2 separate regions of the Homo sapiens genome follow, and region 2 is linked to region 1. The links are contacts of gene promoters, found by promoter capture Hi-C in human tissues and cell types (Jung and others, 2019). All regions are on one chromosome and are shown on one strand. The core of a region is centred on a gene start or on the middle of the fragment in contact, and the rest is flanking DNA. Distances in the headings are between cores, read along the strand shown.

The links. The method cuts DNA at HindIII sites, captures the fragments that hold promoters and counts their contacts. A contact is called where the count stands out against the background at its distance.
Region 2: a contact is called between a fragment that was not itself captured here and the fragment with the promoter of B3GNT4 in region 1, in 1 of the 25 tissues and cell types used here (dorsolateral prefrontal cortex).

Annotation. Positions count from the first base shown.
Region 1 is chr12:122,202,019-122,205,014 of GRCh38, reverse strand. It overlaps B3GNT4 (UDP-GlcNAc:betaGal beta-1,3-N-acetylglucosaminyltransferase 4), which reads right to left and starts at 1,306. Exons shown (of 3, transcript NM_030765.4): 1 at 1,214-1,306; 2 at 331-493. The coding sequence starts at 396. LRRC43 (leucine rich repeat containing 43) reads right to left here. Exons shown (of 12, transcript NM_001098519.2): 12 at 1,544-1,700. The coding sequence ends at 1,573. RefSeq lists a silencer at 992-1,621. The HindIII fragment of the contact is 16,495 bases long and covers 1-2,996 here.
Region 2 is chr12:122,521,588-122,524,332 of GRCh38, reverse strand. RSRC2 (arginine and serine rich coiled-coil 2) reads left to right here. Exons shown (of 10, transcript NM_023012.6): 2 at 2,034-2,190. Among named protein-coding and RNA genes, the nearest start is that of RSRC2, 4.0 kb to the left of the region's middle. The HindIII fragment of the contact is 5,664 bases long and covers 1-2,745 here.

The DNA of each region.
Region 1 (2,996 bases), core at 57-2,556:
TCTGTCACCCAGACTCTAGTGCAGTGGCACAATTATAGCTCACTGCAGCCTGGAACTCCTGGGTTCAAGCGATCCTCCGGCCTCGGCCTCCCCAGTAGCTGGGACTACAGGCGTGCAGGGCCCGGCTAATTTATTTTTTGTAGAGATGTGGTATCTTTTGTTGCCTGGGCTGGTCTGGAACTCCTGGCCTCAAGCGATCCTCCCGCCTTGGCCTCCCAAAGCGTTGGGACTACAGGCGTGAGCCACCGGCCAGAGTTTTCTGAGCCCCCTGGAGATCTATGCGGGGGTGGGGGACAAGGGGGTCTGGCAGAGGCGGTGAAAGAATCTGACCTTTGGTAAAAGGCCACTCCTACCGCCCCTTCCCTGGTGGGCTGCGGAAGGCTGGGGAGGAAGCATGAACGGCAGCTGGAGACTGTCTCCGTGCTCAGGATGCCGGGCGGCGGCGGCGGCGGGGTCGAAGCGAGATGAGTCTCAGGTGTGCGAGCACCGCGGGCTGTGGACGAGAGGCCCGGGCGGGCGGCGGTGCCATTCACCGAGAAGGGCGCACAGCAGGTGGCTTGGTTCCGTCCCAGGAGGTTTCAGCCCAGGCTGCGCCGCGGCCCGGGTGGCCCCTGTCCCGCCGCGGGCGTCCCCAGGCGCTGGCCGCACGGCCTCGCCCCGCCGCCCTCCGAGCCGCGGAGACCCCAGAGCCCGGCTCTCCACCCGCCGCGGAGCGCACGACCCCGTCTGGTGGGGCGCGGGTCCTGAGGCTGCGCTCGGCCTTGGGCGGCAGCCGCCTCGGATCCCCACAGGACTCGGTGACCCAAAACGCCCTGGCGCGGGCAGGGGGCGAACTCTGGTTCATTCTTTCAACGCGACAGTCTCCGAAGGGCTGACGGCAGCAGAGACCCACTCTGCGGGGACCCCCGGGCCGGGGTTGGCAGCAGCGCTGCGCGTCGGGCGCGGGCGGCCCAGGCTGGCGGGGTCTACCGCGCCCGGCTCCAGCCTCTGTCCCCAGCCTGGAGAACCGAAGCCGAGCGGCCCGTGGGCCCCGAGCCGTGCCCGCCGAGGCCAGACTCGCGCCGCACCCGGGCGGGGCCGGCGTCCTCGCGGGGACCCTGGGGGACCGGGGAGCGGGCCGCGGGGTGCAAAGGCACGGCCGCCCTGGCGACGCCCCTCCCTGCACGGTGACCCAGCCTCCCTCACAGCAGCGGCGTCCCGGCCCCCAACCTACCTGAGCGTGACGCCGGGGTACGGGCGTGGAGCTCGTGCAGCGGAGCCAGGGCGGATGGCGCCCAGGTGCGCGGAGCTCTCGGGGCTCGGGAGTGGGCGGGGCTTCTGGAGGAGGTGGGAATTTGGGGCGGGGTTCTGGCGGGGGCGGGTTTGGGGCCTCCCCGGACCCAGCCGCGGGTCTCCGCAGCGCCGGAGGCTGGACGCACGCGTCCCGCGCCCGGTCCTGGGGTCCGCACGAGCCGGGTCGGGCAGAGGCTGCTCCTCCTCCCCAGGACGCCGGCGCCACACCCGCCCCCCGACGCGTGCGGCGGGACAGAAGCGGAGGCGGGAGTGCTGGGAACAGCCTTTACTGCCCACGCCCTACACGGCGAACATGCGCAGAGCCTCCTCCGCCGAGCGGCACTGGTTCAGCTGGATCTGCACCTCTACGGTCAGGGGCTCAGGGTGGTAATCGCCTTCGTAGATCGGAATCACGGCTTTCGGCTTTTCTGAGAAAATTTAAGTGCGAGCATGAGCCCCGGGAGACGGATGGGCTGGCGTTCTCGGCCGCCCTGACCCATCCCATATGCAAGCCCTGGACCCTGTCCCAGCGGGAGCACAGTTTTGGTCCTCGGGTGTTAACAGTAATAAGAAATAAAATTAAATTGTATTTAATTAGATCATTTAATAAATCGCAGCTGTTTGAGTTGCAAGACTGGCTGCTTTTTGCTTTGAGACAGTGTCGTGCTCCGTCGCCCAGGCTGGAGTGCGGTGGCATGATCCCGGCTCACTGCAACCTCCGCCTCCCAGGTTCAAGCGATTCTCCTGCGTCAGCCTCCAAGTAGCTGGGATTACAGGCGCCTGTCACCACGACCGGCTATTTTTTGTAGTTTTAGTAGAGACGGGGTTTCACCATGTTGGCCAGCCTGGTCTCGAACTCCTGACCTCAAGTGATCCGCCTGCCTAGGCCTCCCAACGTGCTAGGATCACAGGCGTACACTACCGAGCCCAGCTGCAGATATTTTCTTAAAAATGAAGTAATTATAGCACTTCAGGGGAAACAACTGAAAGCATTTCAATAAATGTATAACATTTGCCCTAAAAATGAGACAACATTGTATCTGCCACCATGAATTTACCAATTTTCCAATACGCAAAGACCTTTCTAATGATGTGGGTGGTGATAGTAAAGAACGTGATCTTTGGAAAATGTATAGTGACAGGTGTCAACTGTTGGAATATCTGCATAAGTCTGTTAACCTGTAGTTTACAAGTAACTCATGCATGTTACAAACTGCATGGTAAAATATCCGTTCAAAATGCAAACTAGATTAATGAATTTTAATCTGATTATGAAAAATTCAATATAGATTGTTTTCACATTGTAACAACCTTTAAGAAATTACCACTTGTCAAATTTGGTGTAATATTAAAGAAATTATATTATTTTAAGGTCTATTAAAATACTCCCTCTTTTCCAATTATGGGCCTGAGGTTGGATTTTCTTTGTGCACGTCAATTACAGCAACATATTGCAAGCAGTTGACTGCAGAAGTAGCTGTAAGAATCCAGCTGTCTTCAATTAAGCCAAACATTAAAGAGATTAAAAAAAAAAAAACCTTTTTAAGGCCATCTTAACCCACAGATAAGTATCACAAATCACATGTTCATATAGGCATGGGTTTTGAAGTCCAGCAGCATATGCCCTCCAACGTTTACTTCTTCAGGCTGGCGTGAAATGGCGCGATCTCAGCTCACTGCCACCTCTGCCTTCCAGGTTCAAGCGACTCTCCTGCCTCAGTCTC
Region 2 (2,745 bases), core at 49-2,548, 320 kb before region 1:
TACCAAGTGTAAGCTGTACAAACACTCAGCAAGTAATAAATGAGTCTGAAATAGTCCTCAAGGATAACGATGAAAAAAAAAAGTGTCCAGAATTCATTGTGAAAAATCAGAATCATCCTTAATGATACAGCATTATTTATTAGTAGTAAACAGTAAAGATACGGAGATGCAGTATCATTTTAAGCAAGTCAGCTAATGTTGCTGGATCTCATCTGTGAAACGAGAAAGTTGAACTCTATTCTAAGGGGTGAAAACCTTTCAGCATAAAAATTTTATGGTTCCAGAAGTCACCCAGACTGGAGAAATAAGTACATATACAATATGCTGGCATGAGAGCCTCCCTGGTAGTTAATTTCTTACTGTTCTTTTTGTGCCATTGTTAGAGGAATAACACGTAATTTATGTCTTTCATCTCATAATTGAACTGCAAAACCTTTCTGTTTTTAATTTATCATTTTATTCCCTAAGTCTAGCATTGGTTTTGGCACATTTTTGACCCTTAGTAAATACTTGTTGAAGTAACTCGACCTCTCACAACTTCATTTATTAAAGTACAATACACCCATTTATTGTACTTGATACTTGTTTAAAATTTGTTAAAATACAATACCCCCATTTATTGTACTTGATATTTGGTATTCATTTTCTGGACTAACTTTCCTAAAGGAGGAAGTTCTCTAATGTGATTCCTCCTGCTGAAGACTATCGATTCCCTATTTATTCAATCCAGATTCCGTTTGATGTTATACGTGAAAAGTCCATAAACTGTTTCTGTAAAGGGCCAGACGGTAAATATTTTTGGCTTTGTGGGCCATGTGCAGTCTCTGTCACATTCTTTCCCAGGCTGGAGGGGCAGTGGCGCAATCTTAGCTCACTTCAACGTCTGCCTCATGGGTTCAAGCCATTCTCCTGTCTCAACCTCCTGAGTTGCTGGGATTACAGGCACGCCCCACCACTCTTGGCTAATTTTTGTGTTTTTAGTAGAAGCAGGGTTTTACCATGTTGGCTAGGCTGGTCTCAAACTCCTGACCTCAGGTTATCCGCCTGCCTCAACCTCCCAAAGTGCTAGGATTACAGGCATGAGCCACAACACTGGCGTTTTAAGTGCCTTTAGTTTTAACAGTTCAGTCTTTACAGTGCTATTTACTGAAGTTATTTATTAAATATGCCTAAAATAGTTTTAAAAAACGTAAAAAACCATTCCTAGCTCAAGGCCATACAGAAACAGAATGAGGACCATAGCTTGCCAACCCTTCCTAAGTAATCAATTCCCCAGGTGTATCAATTATTTTATTTTCATGTTATCTTCTCTGGTCAGATAGCCGAGCATTGTCTACCTTCTGCATTAGTTGAAACTTGTAAAATTTATATTGTAATAATTACTTATAAAATGCTTTAAAGCAGAAACAACTTAATGTTTTCATAGCCCAGAGCACATGTGAGGAGAGGCAGACCATATTTTGCAGCAGCACTGTGCCAAGGGGCTGTTTTCATTAAAGAGGGTTAATGACATTAAGATGAGGTTCTCACTTAGGTAAGTTAATTTTCTGTTTATTATTTTATAATATTCTTAGGGCATTGTTTTAAGATTTTATCGTCTTGAGTATCTTTAAGCTTTAACAACTCATTTTTGATGTTTGACATGTATGCTAATTTAAAAGTATTGGTAAAGTCAGCTAAATGCATTCACACATCTAAAAAGGACTATTTTCTCTGCTTGAATGCTTATTAGAACTACTTGGAGCCCTTATTCCTCCCCCACCCCACCCCATGTTTTAAAAGTTATACAAATCATCGTTAGAAAATTAAAGATACATCAGTCTAAATATGTAGGTCTTGCTTTAGTATCAGGTTCGTCATTTCAAGCCATTCAGCCTTATTAGTGTACAAAGCACATTTAGTTACTTGGAAAGCAGGCATTCTGATTTATTGATTGTGGGGGGCTATCTTCCCTCCCTTTGTCCCTCTTTTAAGAAATTGAAAACATTTAAAATGTAATTAAGAACTTTAATCATTTGTTTTTAAACTTTTAGGCTAGTGATACAGAGCGAGATGGACTAGCCCCAGAAAAGACATCACCAGATAGAGATAAGAAAAAAGAGCAGTCAGAAGTATCTGTTTCTCCTAGAGCTTCAAAACATCATTATTCAAGATCACGATCAAGGTCAAGAGAAAGAAAACGAAAGTCAGGTATGAATTCTTAAAGGTGGTTACAACTCTCAGCATTTGTATAAGATATGTAGACCTGTTGTATAAGAAGACACATACATTTAGTTTGTTGGCTGGGCATGGTGGCTCAAGCCTGTAATGCCAGCACTTTGGGAGGCCAAGGCAGGCAGATCACCTGAGCCAGGACCAAAAATACAAAAATTGACACACTCTCAGCCCAATGCAACCTCCATCTGCTGGGTTCAGGCAGTTCTTCTGCCTCAGCCTCCTGAGTAGCTGGGATTATAGGCGTGCGCCACCACGCCTAGCTTATTTTTGTATTTTTAGTAGAGACTGGGTTTCACCATGTTGGAACATATCAAATATAATTCAACCTGTTTATTTTCTTTAGTTTTTATTTTTCTTAATGGCTTACCTCTCTCTATTAAACCCCCTTATGAATTTGCTGTAGACTAGGAAACTAGATGGGCTGGTCAGAATATATGTAAAATACTGAAAGTCTATGACCGTTTAAAAGATGTATCTAGGCTGCTTTATGTCCTGGTTTGCTCAGATTGCTTGATTTGTTTCACATGT